Regions from separate parts of the Homo sapiens genome. Here region 2 is linked to region 1. The links are contacts of gene promoters, found by promoter capture Hi-C in blood cells and fetal thymus (Javierre and others, 2016). All regions are on one chromosome and are shown on one strand. The core of a region is centred on a gene start or on the middle of the fragment in contact, and the rest is flanking DNA. Distances in the headings are between cores, read along the strand shown.

The links. The method cuts DNA at HindIII sites, captures the fragments that hold promoters and counts their contacts. A CHiCAGO score of 5 or more calls a contact.
Region 2: a contact is called between a fragment that was not itself captured here and the fragment with the promoter of PCDHB16 in region 1, in 1 of 17 cell types (M1 macrophages). The highest score is 5.2, in M1 macrophages.

Annotation. Positions count from the first base shown.
Region 1 is chr5:141,179,891-141,183,728 of GRCh38, reverse strand. PCDHB16 (protocadherin beta 16) reads right to left here and starts at 1,342. Exons shown (of 1, transcript NM_020957.4): 1 at 1-1,342. The coding sequence starts at 1,169. It overlaps PCDHB8 (protocadherin beta 8), which reads right to left. Exons shown (of 1, transcript NM_019120.5): 1 at 3,190-3,838. The coding sequence ends at 3,289. It also overlaps PCDHB@. The HindIII fragment of the contact is 3,641 bases long and covers 1,203-3,838 here.
Region 2 is chr5:140,735,550-140,739,170 of GRCh38, reverse strand. The region is part of intron 3 of LOC105378198 (a long non-coding RNA gene); the gene reads right to left. Among named protein-coding and RNA genes, the nearest start is that of ZMAT2, 37 kb to the right of the region's middle. The HindIII fragment of the contact is 5,793 bases long and covers 1-3,621 here.

The DNA of each region.
Region 1 (3,838 bases), core at 93-2,592:
GGAAGGTCTTCCTGGATGGAGGAAATCGTCTTCCCATTGTTTCCGGAGTCAGGATCTGAAACGCTGAAAACAGCAACTACTATCTCAGGCGAGTTCTCTGGGATGGGGCTGGTGAGTGCAGACATGGTCACCTGTGGGGGATTGTCATTCACGTCCACCACCTGCAGGAGAAGAGTGCACTTTCCTGAAAGACCTCCCCCATCTGTGGCTTTGATGCGCACTTCATAAGACGTAACCATTTCGAAATCTACTTGCTTTCTCAGTCGAACTTCCCCTGTCATAGGATTTACCTCCAAAGTTTTACTAATATCCTCCGAAGGCTGAAAGAGTGTGTATGATATTTTTCCATTGGCTCCGCCGTCTAAATCCCTGGCGGAGACGGTGGCAACCAGGGAGCCAAGAGGACTGTTCTCTGGAATCTGCACTTTGTAGATGGGCTGCTCAAACTCAGGAGCGTTATCATTGATGTCCACCACTTCAATACGGACCTGAGCAGTTCCAGATCGCGGTGGAGAGCCACCATCCAGCGCTGTCAGGGTTAATCTTAGTTGAGGCTCCTCCTCCCGATCCAGCTCTTTATCCAACACTAGCTCAGGGTATTTCCTGCCATCTCTGAATTCATGGATTAGAACCCGGAAATGAGAGCTTGGGCTGATTTTATAGTTTTGAACATTATTGCTTCCTACGTCCAAGTCCAAAGCATGATTCAGAGGGAACTCAGTTCCTAGAGGACTGTTTTCCGGTATTTTTAGAATCATTTCCTTTTCAGTGAACATGGGAGAATGGTCATTTATATCTATCACCCTCAGTTCAGCCTGAAATATTTCTAAAGGGTTTTCCATTAACACTTGGAAATGTAGTATGCAAGGCTCAGTGGGACCGCATAGCTCCTCTCGATCTAGCTTCTCATTTATGAGCAAATCCCCAGTTTGAGCCTTGAGCTGCAAATGCTGTTTGTTCCCCTGGGAAATGATCCTGGCCTTGCGGGTGGACATCTCTGTCAACCCCAACCCCAGGTCTTTTCCTAGATTTGCCACAAAAGAGCCTCTCTCCGTTTCTTCCACTACGGAATAGGACCCCAACTCGGCGCCCGCCCCAGACAAGCTCAGCAAAACAAAGAAAACAAGGACTTGCCTTTGTCTCCGATTGTGCATCCATCCAATCTCCATTGCTTTTTCTTGAAAAGTTGGTTCACAGAAGCTTCATGTATCCCCAGGATCCTAGTAGAACTGTTTTGCAGTCCAGAATGTCAGAACCAAGCAGCCCAACGGTGTCTTAAAGAGGTTTCACACTCACGTTCGCTCTGGCTCAGCTATTCTTCTGCTTCCAGGCTTTGGGAAACGGTTTGCTGGATCCTGGAGCTGCGTAGGCAGTTGTATTTTCCGTCATCTTAACCTGCAGCGCCACCACGCGTTCTCACTGAGTCTTTTACTGTGGTTGAATATTGGAGGCAAAATACTTCTAAATGTACTGAATAGACTATGTAATACAAAACACTGAGTTCTATTTTCATGTGACTTTCGTGTATACAGATGGAGCTCTGTGATGTTGTACAGGGAGGAGTACAAAGAGAAGACTGTCATTTATGTTATTGACTGTTTAATGCTGTTGAGATTAATGATTAAATAAAATTCAATGAACATTTAACCAGACATAGAATACACACTTAGAAGCAAAATTTTTCTGAAGTAACATGAGAACAGTTTCACAAGTACATCTTTTTCATGGTACCTATATAGACACTATGAGTAGACACTGCAAAATTGCAATCAGTGGTAGTTCTAAAGAGTATTTAACAATTGCTTTATTAAAGAATAAATTACTTCCTTTTCTTTCTGACACCTAACCCTGAGAAGTGTGAGTTTTTACAACTTTCAAGTTATTGGAAAATTCATTCCCAAACAAGCAAATCTCAAGGTTGGGTCTGCTACACTTTTGGATTCCCCCCACCCTTTTTTCATTTCAATGGCTTTTAATATATTCAGAGGTGTGCATCCGCCATCACAATTTTAGAACATTTTCATCTCAAGAGAAACCTTACCTCTTTTAATTATCACCGTACCCGTTCTCCCATCCCACTTATAAACATATGTGTGTGTGTGTGTGTGTGTGTGTGTGTGTGTGTGTGTGTGTAGGTTAACTGAAAAAGACTGAAGAAAGAGAATAAGAAATTCAAGAAATGAAACTATAGGTTAACTCTACTTCCTACTTAGACTCATTTCTTTAATAATGGATATGGCACGTAGAGAAAGTACAGGACTATAAATCAGGTTAATTCGCTCATCATAAAGTTCATTTGTAGTATCTGTCCCAGCATACTTAGAGCTTTGATAAGAACATGGGTATATTTGTGCAGAGTAGTATAAACAAACTATAAACTAAAACTTATATTTTCACATGAGAGTTTAGTTCATGGAGTAGGAGTAGGAATAACATAAATTTCACTTCCTTAGTTAGAAAAACAATGCTATCAGTTAATGCCTGACCATATAGCATATTGGCTAGACTTAGATTATATTTTAAATTTTTACCTTTATTATTTCAGAATTATAAGAAAGTTAATCGTTTTTTGTGGGGGGGAATGAGGTCTCACTCTGTCACCCAGCCTGGAGTGCAATGGCACAATCTTGGCTCACTGTAGTCTCTGTCTCCTGGGCTCAGGGGATCCTCTTACCTCAGCCTCCTGAGTAGCTGGGACTACAGGTTCGCAATCACACCTGGCTAATTTTTGTATTTTTGTTAGTGTCAGTGTTTTGCCCCATTGCCCAGGCTGGTCTCGAACTACTGAGCTCAAAGGGTTCAGCTTGCCTCAGCCTCTCAAAGTGTTATGATTACAGGTGTGAGCCACAGCTCACAGCCAAGTTACCTTTCTAAGCCTCAGTTTTCTCATATTTAAAAAAGGGGATAATATGTCAACTCCCTTAGGACTTGGGGAAACATTTAAAAGGCAATAAATGTAAAACATTCTCTACACCACTTTTAACTAAATTTTACCTAGATTAGAAATCAAAAAATAAAGGCTTAAAAAGATCAGTTACATTAATTTCTTCACTTCAGATCTGTGCATTTTACTATGTACATTTTAACAAAAATTGCACTGTTAAAGAATTATGATTAGAGTCCACTGGATATACTAATGAAGAGAAGATGAGATATCATTTTTTAAAACAGTGAAAACAAGACAAATACTATGGGCAAATGTAGTGTAATTTAAAATTTATGCTAAGTTGACAGAAAACCATTCCTTTGAATTGATCATAAAAATTAAAATATATAATATGAAATCAATTACTTTAACTGAAGGCTGAAACCAAAGCCATTCCTAAAGTTAGAGTTTTGTTCCATTTCTGGCCCAAAAGAATGGCCCTGAATATTAGGTAATACTGGTTTCAGGAGCTGGAACTCATTCGTCCCTGAGCCTCCTGCCAGGCACACCTCGTACTGATAGTTCTGAGACAGGCTCCCGGTGCCCCTCACGTCCACCAGATGCCCTGGAAAGGGGCCCTCAGGCACTGAGCAGCGACCCACCGAGGCCGCCCTGCTCCTCCTACACAGCAGCACCGCCACGAACAGGAGCACCGAGAAGAGGAAGAGCGAAGACACCGAGGCCAACGCCACCACCAGGTAGACGGTGAGAGAGTCGGCCTGGCCCTGGGCTGGGGCAGCCTCCGGAAGCGGCAGGTAGGGCTGGGAGAAGCCGTCCACCAGGAGCACGTGCAGCGTGGCGGTGGCCGAGCACGGAGGCTCGCCATTGTCCTTGACCAGCACCACCAGCCTCTGCTTGGCCGCGTCGCGCTCGCTCAGCAGCCTGGCGGTGCGCACCTCGCCATTGTGCGCC
Region 2 (3,621 bases), core at 969-3,468, 450 kb after region 1:
AAATTTTTAAAAATAAAATAGGTTTTAAAATTTAAAAATATTAAATTGGCAGTGAGGGAGCAACTCACAAATTATTTTATAACGACAAATGTTATCATAAAGGCCCATGCTTAAGAATCAGGCTGAAAGTTGCTTGTTCTGGGCCAGGGGTGGTGGCTCACGCCTGTAATCCCAGCACTTTTGGAGGCCTAGGTGGGTGGATCACTTGAGGTCAGGCGTTCCAGACCAGCCTGGCCAACATGGTGAAACCCATTTCTACTAAAAATATAAAAATTAGCCAGGTGTGGTGGCCCACACCTGTAAGCCCAGCTACCAGGGAGGCTGAGGCAGGAGAATTGCTTGAACCCTCCAGGCGGAGGTTTCAGTGAACCAAGATCACACCACTGCACTCCAGCCTGGGCAACAGAGTAAGACTTTGTCTCAAAAAAGAAAAAAAAAAGTTAATTATTCTGCAGAACTTGGAGGTGATCCCAATGGTACCTCTGAGAAGCCACCCTGTCATTCTAAAAAGGATGAATACGATTAAGAAACATGTTCACCAGCCTGGGCAACATGGTGAAACTTTGTCTCTACTGATACAAAAATTAGCCGGGAGTGGTGGTGTGCACCTGTAATCCCACGAAACTGAGGCATGAGAATCACTTGAACCTGGGAGACAGAGGTTGCAGTGAGCTGAGATCGCACCACTGTACTCCAGCCTGGGCAGCAGAGTGAGACTCTGTCTCAAAAAAAAAAAAAAAGAGAGAGAGAGAGAAAGAAAGAAATATATTCAGAGGAATCCTATGAAGAAATAGAAAGTAAAACATCTAGTATTTCATCATTAATAGGTAATCATAGAGAAGAATAAAAAGAAGAATAAGGAAGGATATGAGGAGAATTGTTACTAAAGGAAATCTATGTTGTATTTTACTAATTGTTCATTTTGGGGCTTTTTTATTTTTATTTTTTTGTAGAGACGAGGTCTCACTATGTCACCCAAGATGGTCTCAAACTTCTGGCCTCAAGTGATCCTCCTACCTCGGCCTCCCAAAATGCTGGGATTATAGGTGTGAGCCACTGCACCTGGCCTCCTGTTCATTTGGATTTTCACTTCTCTGTTTTATTCTTCGTGCCTTCATCTTACTTTAATATTTTCTAAAATTCTATTTTGAGTTAATACTATGTTTTTTAGTGCATCTCTTTGTATAACATGTTAGCGGTTGCTCTGTCCACAACTTATCAAAGTCTATTCATTTTTTTCCGTCTAATTTCTCTCTGTTGTTTAGGTTGGATAATTTTTATTATTCTATCTTCTAGTTCACTTGTTATTTTTTCTGCCTCCTCCATTATGCTGCTGAACCCACCCACCCCATCCACTGAGGTTTTTATTTCAGTTATTATATTTTTCAGTTCTAAAATTTCCATTTAGTTCTTCTTTTATCATCTATTTCTTTGCTTATGCATTCTATTTTTCATTTATTCCAAGAATGTTTATAATTGCTTATTGAAGCATTTTTACAATGGCTAATTTAAAATTTCTGTCAGATAATTCTAATATCTCTGTCATCACAATGTTGGCATCTGTTGATTGTCATTTTTTCATTCTGTTTGAGATCTTCTGGTATGATAAGTAACTTTTCATTAAAACCTGGATATGTTCATATTATATTCCGCTACTCTGGATCCTATTTAAACCTTCTGTTTTAGTGGGATTTCTCTGATACCATTTAGGCAGAAGGGGGAACAGAGAAAGAAGGAGATGTCACCTAATTACTGCCAGGTGCAGGCAGAAGTCCAGGTTCCCCACAGAGCCTCCATTGCCACCTGAAGAAGGGAGCTCATTGTTACTGCTGGGTAAGCATGGAAGTTCTGGCTCCCCTGACACCACAGTGAGGATGGCCACATTACCACTGGGTAGAGGTCTAAGTCCAGTCTTCTCATATAATCCCCCCTGCTGGGAAGGGAAGTATTAACAAAAGATCATGAGATTTGAGGAAGAAGAAAAAAGAGAGTTTTATTTCCTATAAATGGTTACAATCTGCAGGTTGGGAAATGAAACATCCAGCCAAAATGAAAAGCATCTGCTTCAGAGACAAAAGGGAGAAGCTGGGACTTATGCCCAACAAGATGAGCTATATGTACATATTCAGTAGCTTATAGGAGAATCTATGAATATTTGAGAAAACCCTAATGCATGCAAAGAGAATAAACATATATGTTACATATGTTCCATGTTCATTTTGGGGTGGGGATTTAATAGTAAAGTGAAGTGGCACGTGGCTGTTTATATATAACAAGGTGAAACAGAACACAAAGGCATCTTGTGCACAGCCTCTGTGGACTAGGTGCAATCAGTCTGTGGTCGGTGGTCAGTATAACAATGGAATGTTTAATAAGGCTGGTCAGTAGTCATGGTGAAACCACGATAAAAGAGGGGAGGTCAGCCATGACATCAAGAGGTCTCTTGAGGTTGAGGGAGAAATCTTCCAGACAGTTTTTTAGGAACTCGTTTCTGTTTAATTGTAGGAAGGAAAGTTTTGAGGCAGTTAACAAGGTAGGGGAGTGTTGAGGTGTGACTGACCTCTTGCCTTGCCAAAGCCATAGAATGCAGTTTTCAAAGTTTCTGGGGTCTCTTTTGCAACAAGAAGTCCATTCTGTTTCACCTAGGGGCTTAGGGACTTTAGTTTTATTTCACACTTTCCAGCTTTAGGCTGAAATCTGCCATAGGCAGCATTGATGGCTAAATTTTCTAACATGTCCCATGTCGTTCCCAGGATGGTGTGGATACCTGCCCCAGGTCTATCTAGTCTGTCAGTGGGACTCATGTGGCTAGGAGACTTACAACCAGTTGAATATTTTAGGCCAGGCAAGAAGGAGGCAGACAGCTATTAAGACCCTTTGAACCTTTGAGACTAGAAAAACAGTAACAACAGAAAAGTTGAGAAGGTAAGTTTATGTTTATGTTGTCTGTCATTTCTATGCATTGTGCTACCATAACTTTGGTTTTAGTGACAGACTTGAAGTAGTTGGTTATAGATCTTATAAGTACTTTGACTATCAAAAATAGGAACAAGATAGTGATATGATAATGACAAGGGTTTGTAAGATGGATTGGAAGTAATTTCTAATACTGCAATGAGTCAGCTAAAAACGTTATTAAGGGGATCTGTGGTTTGTACCTCCTGTAACCAGGCAGCCTGTTGGGTGATCTTACCTACATGGGTTGTTAAATCTCCTATAATGTTGATATAAGTGCAACAAGTGGTGTGGGCTATCATGCAAATTCCCCCTTGTTTAGCAATGAGAAAACCTGGTGCAATTTGATTGTCTAAAACCACTTGAGCGAGAGAATTTAAGGACTTCTACTGTGTCATAATACTTATTGCAGCATTTTCAGCAATTTGTCCTATGGTGGCCGGCATTTTTTTTTATCGTATCTCTGTTAGTGTATACTCCGTAGCTGAGAAAAATTACACCCCAAAAACTATGCTACCACATATCCTGATATCCACTTGGTAGCTCTCTTTTAGCTTACCGGAAAGCAAGATTTTCTTTATGATTGAGATGGATGGAAAAGAGGGCAACGTAATGACCTAGAAGGCAAAGTCCTTCAACTTGCCAGCTGTTTATGCATCTGTGTGC